Regions from separate parts of the Homo sapiens genome. Here regions 1 and 3 are each linked to region 2. The links are contacts of gene promoters, found by promoter capture Hi-C in human tissues and cell types (Jung and others, 2019). All regions are on one chromosome and are shown on one strand. The core of a region is centred on a gene start or on the middle of the fragment in contact, and the rest is flanking DNA. Distances in the headings are between cores, read along the strand shown. Region 1 overlaps LINC03136 (long intergenic non-protein coding RNA 3136). Region 2 holds the start of ACRV1 (acrosomal vesicle protein 1). Region 3 overlaps HYLS1 (HYLS1 centriolar and ciliogenesis associated).

What was found. The method cuts DNA at HindIII sites, captures the fragments that hold promoters and counts their contacts. A contact is called where the count stands out against the background at its distance.
Region 1: a contact is called between a fragment that was not itself captured here and the fragment with the promoter of ACRV1 in region 2, in 2 of the 25 tissues and cell types used here (mesendoderm cells and thymus).
Region 3: a fragment that was not itself captured here is called in contact with the fragment with the promoter of ACRV1 in region 2 in 2 of the 25 tissues and cell types used here (mesenchymal stem cells and spleen).

What each region holds. Positions count from the first base shown.
Region 1 is chr11:125,873,781-125,877,224 of GRCh38, reverse strand. LINC03136 (long intergenic non-protein coding RNA 3136) reads left to right here. Exons shown (of 2, transcript XR_007062935.1): 1 at 1-2,979. Among named protein-coding and RNA genes, the nearest start is that of LINC03136, 7.4 kb to the left of the region's middle. The HindIII fragment of the contact is 6,358 bases long and covers 1-3,444 here.
Region 2 is chr11:125,679,355-125,682,325 of GRCh38, reverse strand. It overlaps ACRV1 (acrosomal vesicle protein 1), which reads left to right and starts at 1,479. Exons shown (of 4, transcript NM_001612.6): 1 at 1,479-1,597. The coding sequence starts at 1,546. It also overlaps a transcript of CHEK1 not described here. The HindIII fragment of the contact is 2,782 bases long and covers 1-1,967 here.
Region 3 is chr11:125,895,248-125,898,252 of GRCh38, reverse strand. All of the region lies in intron 2 of HYLS1 (HYLS1 centriolar and ciliogenesis associated), which reads right to left. It overlaps PUS3 (pseudouridine synthase 3), which reads left to right. Exons shown (of 4, transcript NM_031307.4): 2 at 1,923-2,346; 3 at 2,464-3,005. The coding sequence starts at 1,969. Among named protein-coding and RNA genes, the nearest start is that of PUS3, 6.5 kb to the left of the region's middle. The HindIII fragment of the contact is 5,970 bases long and covers 1-3,005 here.

The sequences.
Region 1 (3,444 bases), core at 441-2,940, 190 kb before region 2:
GCTGGGATTACAGGCGTGAGCCACCCGCCCAGCCTTGTCTTGATACTTCTTTGTTATGGGGGCTGTTCTGTGCATTTTAGGATGTTTGGCAGCATTCCTGGCCTCTACCCACTAGATGCAGCAGCACTCTTTCGATTGTGACCATCAAAAATGTCTCTAGACATCACCAAAAGTCTACTGTGGGAGTTACAACATCCAGGATTGAGAATCAACTATTTTAAATAAAAGGAAGACTAGACATGCCAGATTGTGAGTGAGGTTTTCTTGTATTTCTTTTCTTTTCTTTTTTTTTGAATTTTACTTTAAGCTCTGGGATACATATGCAGAATGTGCAGGTTTGTTACATAGGTATTCGTGTGCCATGGTGGTTTGCTGCACCTATCAACCCGTCATCTAGGTTTTAAGCCCCTCATGCATTAGGTATTTGTCCTAATGTTCTCCCTCCCCTTGCCCCCCACCCCCTGACAGGCCCCCATGTGTGATGTTCCCCTTCCTGTGTCCATGTGTTCTCACTGTTCAACTCTCACTTATGAGTGAGAACATGCAGCGTTTGGTTTTCTGTTCTTGGGTTAGTTTGCTGAGGCTGATGGTTTCCAGCTTCATCCATGTCCCTGCAAAGGACATGAACTCGTGAATGAGGTTTTCTTTACATCATATTTCTTTGTATCTGATTTACTTCTTAAATTTTTAGAAATAAGAGATCCTCTGTCACTTTATCCAATTACCTCCACTGGTAACATCTTGCAAAACTACAGTGCAATATCACACAAGGATATTAACACTGATAAGGTCAAGATAAAGAACAAAGTTCCCTCATGTTGCCATTTTATATCCACACCCAATGTCTTTCCACCCTAACTTCCTATTTAAATGGAATCATACAGTATAGAACTTTTTGGGATTTTTTTTTTTTCACTCAAAAAATTATCTGGAGATTCATCCAGGTTGTTGTTCTTTTCCATTGTTGAGCAGTATTCCATGGCTTGGATGTATCACAGTTTGTTTAAACATTTACCCGCTGGGGGACATCTGGATTATTTCCATTTTTTTTTTTTTTTTGCAATTTTGAACAGTGTTACTATAAACATTCACATACAGATTTTTGTGTGAGTATGTTTTCATTTCTCTGGGATAAATGCTCAAGAGTACAGTTGCCTGGCTACATGGTAGTTGCATGTTTAGTTTTAAAAGAAACTGCCAAACTAATTTATTTTCATGTACATTTTACATTCCCATCAGTGGTGTATGAATGATGCAGTTTTTGTGCATCCTCACCAGCATTTGGTGTTGTCAGTTTTTAATTTCAGCCACCCTCTAGGTATGTAGTAACATTCCATTGTGGTTTTAATCTACATTAAATTCAATGTAGCTAATAATGTTGAAAATCTTTTCATGCATTTTTTATTTGAATATTCTCTTTAGTGAACTGTTTTCATGTCTTTTGCTAATTTTCCAGTTGTATTATTTATTTTTTTAATGTTGAATTTTCAGAGTTCTTTATATATTCTAGATACTAGTCTTTTGCCAAATAGGTGGTATGAAAATATGTTCTCCTGGTCTATAGGTTGTATTTTTATGCCCTTAATAGAGCCTTTCACCAAGCAAAGCTTTTAAAATTTATTAAGTCCAATTAATTAATTTTTCCTTTTATGGATCATACATTTAGTGGCAAGTCTAAGAACTCTTTACTTAGTTCCAAATCCCCCAAATTTTCTCCTTTTTTTCTAAAAGTTTTATATAGTTTTACATTTTGTATATTTAAGTCTGTGATCCATCCTGAGTTAATTTTTGTATAAGGTGGATATGGTTTGGATATGGTTTGTTTGTCTCCACCAAAACTCATGTTGAAATTTGATCCCCTATGTGGTGATGTTGGGCTGTGGGACCTAGTGGGAAGTGTTTGGGTTTTGGGGGTGGATCCCTCATGAAATGGCTTTGCATTCTCACTCTGGCAACACAGGAATGGATTAGTTCCCATAAGAGTGGGTTGTTATAAAGCCCAGATGCTCTTCAGGTTTTCTCTCTTTGTACCTGTTCTCTTCTCTTTTGACCTTGTCTGCCATGTTATGACACCCTCACCAGAAGCCAGGGTGGCCATGTCCTTGAACTTCCAAGCCTGCAGAACCATGAGCTAAATAAACCTCTTTTCTTTCTAAATTACCCAATCTCAGGTGTTTAGAGAATGGTTTACCCTTAGAGAATGGTTCTGGTGAACTTCTGGATTTAAAATCTCCTTACTAATTAAGTACTGTTTTAACTGGGGGCAGAATGTGTGCCTTAAAAGAACGTAGGGACCTAATGGCTGTTTTCCTGCTGATGGGACAGTATCAGAACTAAAATTTGGCTTTGGAGGACATTTTACTCCTAATTGTTGAAGGCAGTGTTTTCGCATTCACAGAAGGGGCATAAAGCCTGGTCTCTAGTATAGGGGTGCAAAAAGGGAGGAGAATTGGGAGGCTAGAGTGTTACAGCAATGGACCAACGCTGTGCCTCATGGAGAGGATTCCTATTCCACTAGGTGGCGACGTTGACCTAGAAATACCGTGCGCTTCCCAGAGGAAGGGTAGAGGGAGAAATGCTTATTGAGAAGGGCTCTTTGCTCCTAGAAAATGACAGAAAACAGCATTCCCTTGTGCTATATTCTCAGTTACTATGGCATTCGCTAATCTTTCCTAACAGGACTATTTTCCTGAACTGTAAAAATTCTCAAACACTGCATACACAGAGAGGATAGGAGACATGGCCTTTGCGGATAGGAAATGAGGAAATTTTGCGATAGGACAGCTGTAGATCCTGTTGCGGACACCCAGCCGGGCAGTTGGAGGTGGGGTCAGTCCAGAAGCCTTCAGATAACACCAGGGTGTAGTCCTGGCGAGAAATCTTCAGTTGCTTCAGGACCTTTTCTAGCCCCACGCGACGGCTAGGTCCTCCGTGAGAGAAAACTGGTTCGAGAAGCATGGCCAACATTCCCAATGATCCGTGAGTATTGAGAAGTTCTCCATGTTCTCCCAAGCAAGCCTAACATCTGAGACTTCCCGCATGGCGGCCGCCCTATTAGCATTTAGGTGGCTATAGGATGCCCATTGTTTGAACTTAAGATGGAGGCCGAGAGCCTCCAAATGAAAGGACAGAGTTGAAAGTTAAGTTCTGCGCCTGTACTCACCCCTCTGATGAATATACCTTCTGTTCTGATTCTGATCCTGGGCGAGTCCCCACAATGAAGTGGTGTTGTCTGTCTGGGGAAATAACTGAGGTTCGTTGTCTCGCGCTAAGGAGAACAAAGATGTGGGCACACAGGGAATGGGTTTAAGAGCAGAAAGTTTAATAGGTGAAAGAAACAAGAGGAAAGCTCCCCTGTGCAGAGGGAGGGGGTTCCGAAGGGATCTCCCGGGTTGCGGTGGGAAGCGGCTGGTTTTATAGAGGGCTTGAGGAGGCAGTATCTGA
Region 2 (2,971 bases), core at 230-2,729:
TTTTGCAGACCTTGGCTAAAGTGAAGCATTCCACGGGGGTTTGGGCCCTTAGAAACAGCCTGTCCAACTGCCTCCCTGACTTTATCACACTCTGCTGGGAAAAAGTCCAAGGAACATCAGCATCACATTCTGCGGGAACAAGGGCCAAAATGCCTCATTATGGGAACATCTTCCCAGGCAGCAAGCCATACTGCCCAGACCCGTCCTGCTCATACCTACAAGTACCCCAACCTGTACGAAGCAGTGGGCACTGGCATTAAGCTAGTCCCCCACCTCTGTAGGTCTTATGCTAGACAGAAAGCCTGGATTTGATGTAGAGCCGCCACTCTCTCTTTCTTTAACCCTCACCTTCCTTTCAAAATGTAACAATAAGTACATCTATTCTAGATTTAGCATTCAGTGGTATATAAAACAAAGTTGTTCAAGAGAGCTGAGCAGAGAAGCAGCGAGAAATGGAAGCTACCAGATCTTTGCCACTCAATCCTCCATAAGTTCTAGTTTTATATCAGGTGGATGCCTCACTGCATCCATCTTCTCAGCTTGGCCACCCCCTTGCTACCAAGTTGCAGCTCAAAACGCAGCTTTCTACTGTCTCTTGATCTCTTTACTCTGCCCATATCTGTGTAAACTCTCCTCAGTTACCCATTTGAGTTTGCCACCTGTTTCCTGCTAAAACCATGTTGATAAAGGTCTGTATGAAAAGACTATTTACAGAAGTGGGCAAGGTTAAGGAAACAAACAAACAAAAAAAGAGATAAGTTTGGGCATCCAGATTTTAGTAACAGCAGGAAACCATTATCATCCCTAGGCCTAAGAGGGCAGGGGGAGAAAAACATATTACCATAGCATGGATGAGAGCTGGAGCCATGGAAGAGAGGACACCCAACAGAAGCTCTGTCATGTAGACTCAGCCAGTGTCAACTGTGGCAGGAAGGGAATAGGAAGAACAAATATTCCAGTCTCGCTCTCTTTCTCCCCATTCCTCCCTTCCCTCTTCCTCTCTCTCTTTCTCTCTTCTCCCCTCCAATCCTGTATAAACCCAATCTGAAGCCAAATCCAGCCAGCATTCAGGTGATAAAGTCAACAGAGGTCAACCTTCCAGGGTACAGATCAGAGCCAAGAAAGGCTGATTTAGAAAGCCAAACAGAAAACAATCAACAATTACATCTCATTGTCAAAAACACTTTTAAAAGACAGTAGATATCTTTTAAACTTTATTACAAAAAATATGTGCTTTTTGGTAATACTTTTTTTTTTTTTTTAAAGATAGGGCAGATAGCCCCAACACACTACCCTGCACACAGAAAATAATCATTGGTCTTCACTAGTGAAATAAGCAGTGGGTTGCTAAGGGCCAACTTGCCTGAACAGGCTACACAAGAACCTCAGAGCCCAACCCATTGTGAAGAAACATGGGTTACTTCTGAGGTTCTAGAATTCCCAGAAGCTCTGCTTCAGCACTGGAAGCTTTTGCTCGCAGTTTGCTTCATAGCTCTGTGAAGAAGCTGTGGCCCACACTGGGGTCCCCTCTTTTCCTAAATCCAGATGAACAGGTTTCTCTTGCTAATGAGTCTTTATCTGCTTGGATCTGCCAGAGGTGAGTGTTTGATCTAGGCTTCAGGTAAATACAAAAGGGGTCTCCCTTAAGACATTTCAGGCCTTGAAGAAGGAAGACCAGTCTCTCAGTCACCCAAACCAATCTGAGTCAGAATCAAGAGCAGCTAAACAAGTCCAACTCGGAGAGCTCCTGAACCAGTTGATTTCTCTAGTCATAGCTTTACAGTCAGAGGGTCCCACTGGCTTGGCACAGTCTGGTTTCTACTTATTTTAGCCACTCAACATTTATACCTGATGCTGCATGAGATGAAAAAGTAGGCTTAGGGGTTCTGTAGAAGCCCAATGAAGGTTTGTCCCACCAATTAAATGTGAGGGATCCTTGTGTGGTTAATGTGCCAAGGAAAGATGGGAGATGGGAAGATGTAATGTGTTCAGAAAACAACCTCAGAACACGACAGAGCTATAGGCCAGAGACTTCATAAGCCTCTTCTTCATGGCTGTGTTATATCAATCAGGTTTTCTGTATCATCTCTTCTTTTGGGATCCCCCATTCATGGTGTGCTGTGTTCCCTCCTGCCTCCTACAGCAGAAAGAGGCCATGAGCTCTGAGCTTTCAGTGAAAAAACAATGTATTTTCTATAATGTCGACTGTCAGAGGTTTTGCTTTTTGCTTTGTTAGACCTTCAAAAGTTGACTCAAAAATGTAGATACACAGCCACCAGGTGATAGTATGTGCCAGTCACATGGTGACACGAGTCATAAACTATAAGATCAAGAAATTAGCATGCTTTTTATGTCTCCTTTCTATATCAGAAACATCTCTTTATCAAAACTTGTGTTAATTATTGAAAAACCAGTCAAGTAGATAGTATTTATGTAATAAGTTTAAAAAATAAAAACCTCCTAAAAGCTTTACTAAATCTTACCTTTCCTTTATCAACATATTCTCACCCTAGTCATTTAGAAAGTCACTGATTGTAAGTACTGCACTGTGCCAAGAAAATATATCTATCGCAAGATTCTTAGAGTTTTGAGTACTCTGGGGTTTTAGACTACCTCAGCCTCAAAGATCCAATAATTCCTCTCAGCTTTTGGCTAGAATTAAATAACTTGGTTGTTGTAGTCTACTTGTCTTCCTCTAGGTGGCTCAGTTTAATCAAAGAGTAATAATCAAATTATCTGTTTTGTGCTTCTGTTCACTTAAAATATACTTAAGGAATATTTGTCTGACAGTCAATGATGAGATGGATTGGCCAGACACAGTGGCTCATGCCTGTAATCCCAGCATTTTGGGAGGCTGAGGCGGGCGGATCACTTGAGGTCAGGAGTTCAAGACCAGCCTGGCCAACATGGCGAGACCCTGTCTCTACTAAAAATACAAAAATTAGCCAGGTATGGTGGCATGCACCTGTAA
Region 3 (3,005 bases), core at 104-2,603, 220 kb before region 2:
TGTCCCCACTATTTTTCTTTTTAAACTGAAAAACTAATACATGCACATGATAATTTTAAGCAAGGATTTTCCCTCCCCCACCAAGTTTTACTCTCAAAGGCAATTTCTTATGATTTATCTAGAAATTTTCCATATTCACATGTACATTTTTTTTTAATACCGTAAAGGACAACACTACACAACTCTTCTGAACCTTAAAGATAATCTTGGTTATCCAGCTATATCAGCACAGGCCGACATTCTTCATTTTATGTTGCGCGGAATTCCAATGTATGAATGTATCATAAATTTAGTCAGCCATTCCCTTACTGGTGTAATTTAGGTTTATAGGTTTACTGATGCTAACACGAGTATCTTGCAAGTTTTTATCTATTTGTGCAAGCATATGAATGGATTAAATTTCTAGACATGGGAGAGGTGGGCCAAAAGGTATGTGTATATTCAATTTTGACAGCTGTTGCCAAAATGTTTACCTCCAAAGAAGCTGTACTGACCATACATTAATAGAGCTTGTGTCTCTATTCCCTCTCCAAAGTGGTATACTATCAAACTTTGTCTTTGCAGTCACTTCCTTGAAAAATAGTTCATATCCTTTTGCATTTATCTCAGCTGAGTAAAATTGAGCATTTAAAATTTTTTTTAAAAAATTTTTATAAGCTTTTTTCTTTTTGTTTGAAATGCTTGGTCTTTGCCCATTTGACTCTCAGGTTGCTGGATTTTTTTTTTTTTTACTTTTTCATTAAAACTGATGTATATATTCATGAAATATATATTGAGGAAGGTCGCACTTTACCATCACTTATTTTTTTCTTCTCAGTTTGTCATTTGCCTTTTATTTTTTGCTGGCAGAAGTTTTTCCTTTTAGGTCACATCTTTTTCTAGTGTCTGGGTTTCTAGACTGTTTTGCTTAGAAATGCCTTTCCTACTCCAGAATTTCAGAAAAAAGTCATTCCATGTTTTCTTCTAGTACTTTCAGTTTCATTTTTTACAATTTAAACTTTTAATCTATTATAGATACAGAAACTCATAGTAAAAAACTAAGCTACCTATACTTAGATAACATGGCCTTAGAACAGATGTGGAGATGGTCTTCTCTAACTAAAGTAACCATCAGTCACAGATTGTCTAGGACCATCCCAATTTTAAGGATGTAGTACAGTTGTCCTCAGATTATTGAAATATTACAGGAATTTCTACACTGACATCTACATTACATCAGACTGACTTTTTAAACTATTAGAGGCACAGAAATCTTTTATCAAAATATGCATTTAATTCAGCTTTAGAAAGGGGTCAGAGTGCTTAATTATCTTTTTTTCTCCCATCAAAATTGCTTAAAGTGAGAAAATCTTGTCTCTAGCTTCTACTTCCAATGTGAAATACAACCATCGGTAAGCTTCTTCAGTTAGGCTAGCTTCTATTGCACCACCTAATATTCATCTAATGAATATTAGATGATGGAGCATACAAGTCATTTATTTGAGATAATGGAAAGCAATAGAAACTCAGAGCAGATAAAAGTAGCCCATATAAAGAAATCTTATGACTAGCAAATTGAACAAATACAGTGAGAAATCAAATGGAAATGTTTTAGAGAAAAAAATCTGTAACATCAGTCCTCAATCAATTCAGTGAAGATAGAGAAATGAAATCTATAGACATTCTCCCTGAATTTTGACTGCTTTAATGAAACCTTAATAATGACAACTGAATAACAAACAGTTCTTTCCCTCTGTGAACTGGCCAGACAGGATGGAAAAGAATGCTATCTGTGGATGATCAACCCACAATAAAGCTAATGCTTGTATTCCTGGAAAAGCAAAAGTATATTCTTTGGGCATTAAATTAAATCTTATATACCATTAGAACATCATCAAAGGAACTAGCATTGAAACTGTTGTATCCCTTTGCTCTCTTTTCAGACAGGGCAGACCTGTATGGTTCGTTTATTCCTGGGGTTGTCATATCATGGCTTATAATGACACAGACAGAAACCAGACTGAGAAGCTCCTAAAAAGAGTACGAGAACTGGAGCAAGAGGTGCAAAGACTTAAAAAGGAACAGGCCAAAAATAAGGAGGACTCAAACATTAGAGAAAATTCAGCAGGAGCTGGAAAAACTAAGCGTGCATTTGATTTCAGTGCTCATGGCCGAAGACACGTAGCCCTAAGAATAGCCTATATGGGCTGGGGATACCAGGGCTTTGCTAGTCAGGAAAACACAAATAATACCATTGAAGAGAAACTGTTTGAAGCTCTAACCAAGACTCGACTAGTAGAAAGCAGACAGACATCCAACTATCACCGATGTGGGAGAACAGATAAAGGAGTTAGTGCCTTTGGACAGGTAAGGGCCAATACACTGTTTCTCAAAGCAAGCAATACTAGGATATTCTAGGTATACACACTGAGTACTGAGATTATTTGTGTCTCTAAAACCCAGTATCTTTGTCTAACTCCACAGGTGATCTCACTTGACCTTCGCTCTCAGTTTCCAAGGGGCAGGGATTCCGAGGACTTTAATGTAAAAGAGGAGGCTAATGCTGCTGCTGAAGAGATCCGTTATACCCACATTCTCAATCGGGTACTCCCTCCAGACATCCGTATATTGGCCTGGGCCCCTGTAGAACCAAGCTTCAGTGCTAGGTTCAGCTGCCTTGAGCGGACTTACCGCTATTTTTTCCCTCGTGCTGATTTAGATATTGTAACCATGGATTATGCAGCTCAGAAGTATGTTGGCACCCATGATTTCAGGAACTTGTGTAAAATGGATGTAGCCAACGGTGTGATTAATTTTCAGAGGACTATTCTATCTGCTCAAGTACAGCTAGTGGGCCAGAGCCCAGGTGAGGGGAGATGGCAAGAACCTTTCCAGTTATGTCAGTTTGAAGTGACTGGCCAGGCATTCCTTTATCATCAAGTCCGATGTATGATGGCTATCCTCTTTCTGATTGGCCAAGGAATGGAGAAGCCAGAGATTATTGATGAGCTGCTGAATATAGAGAA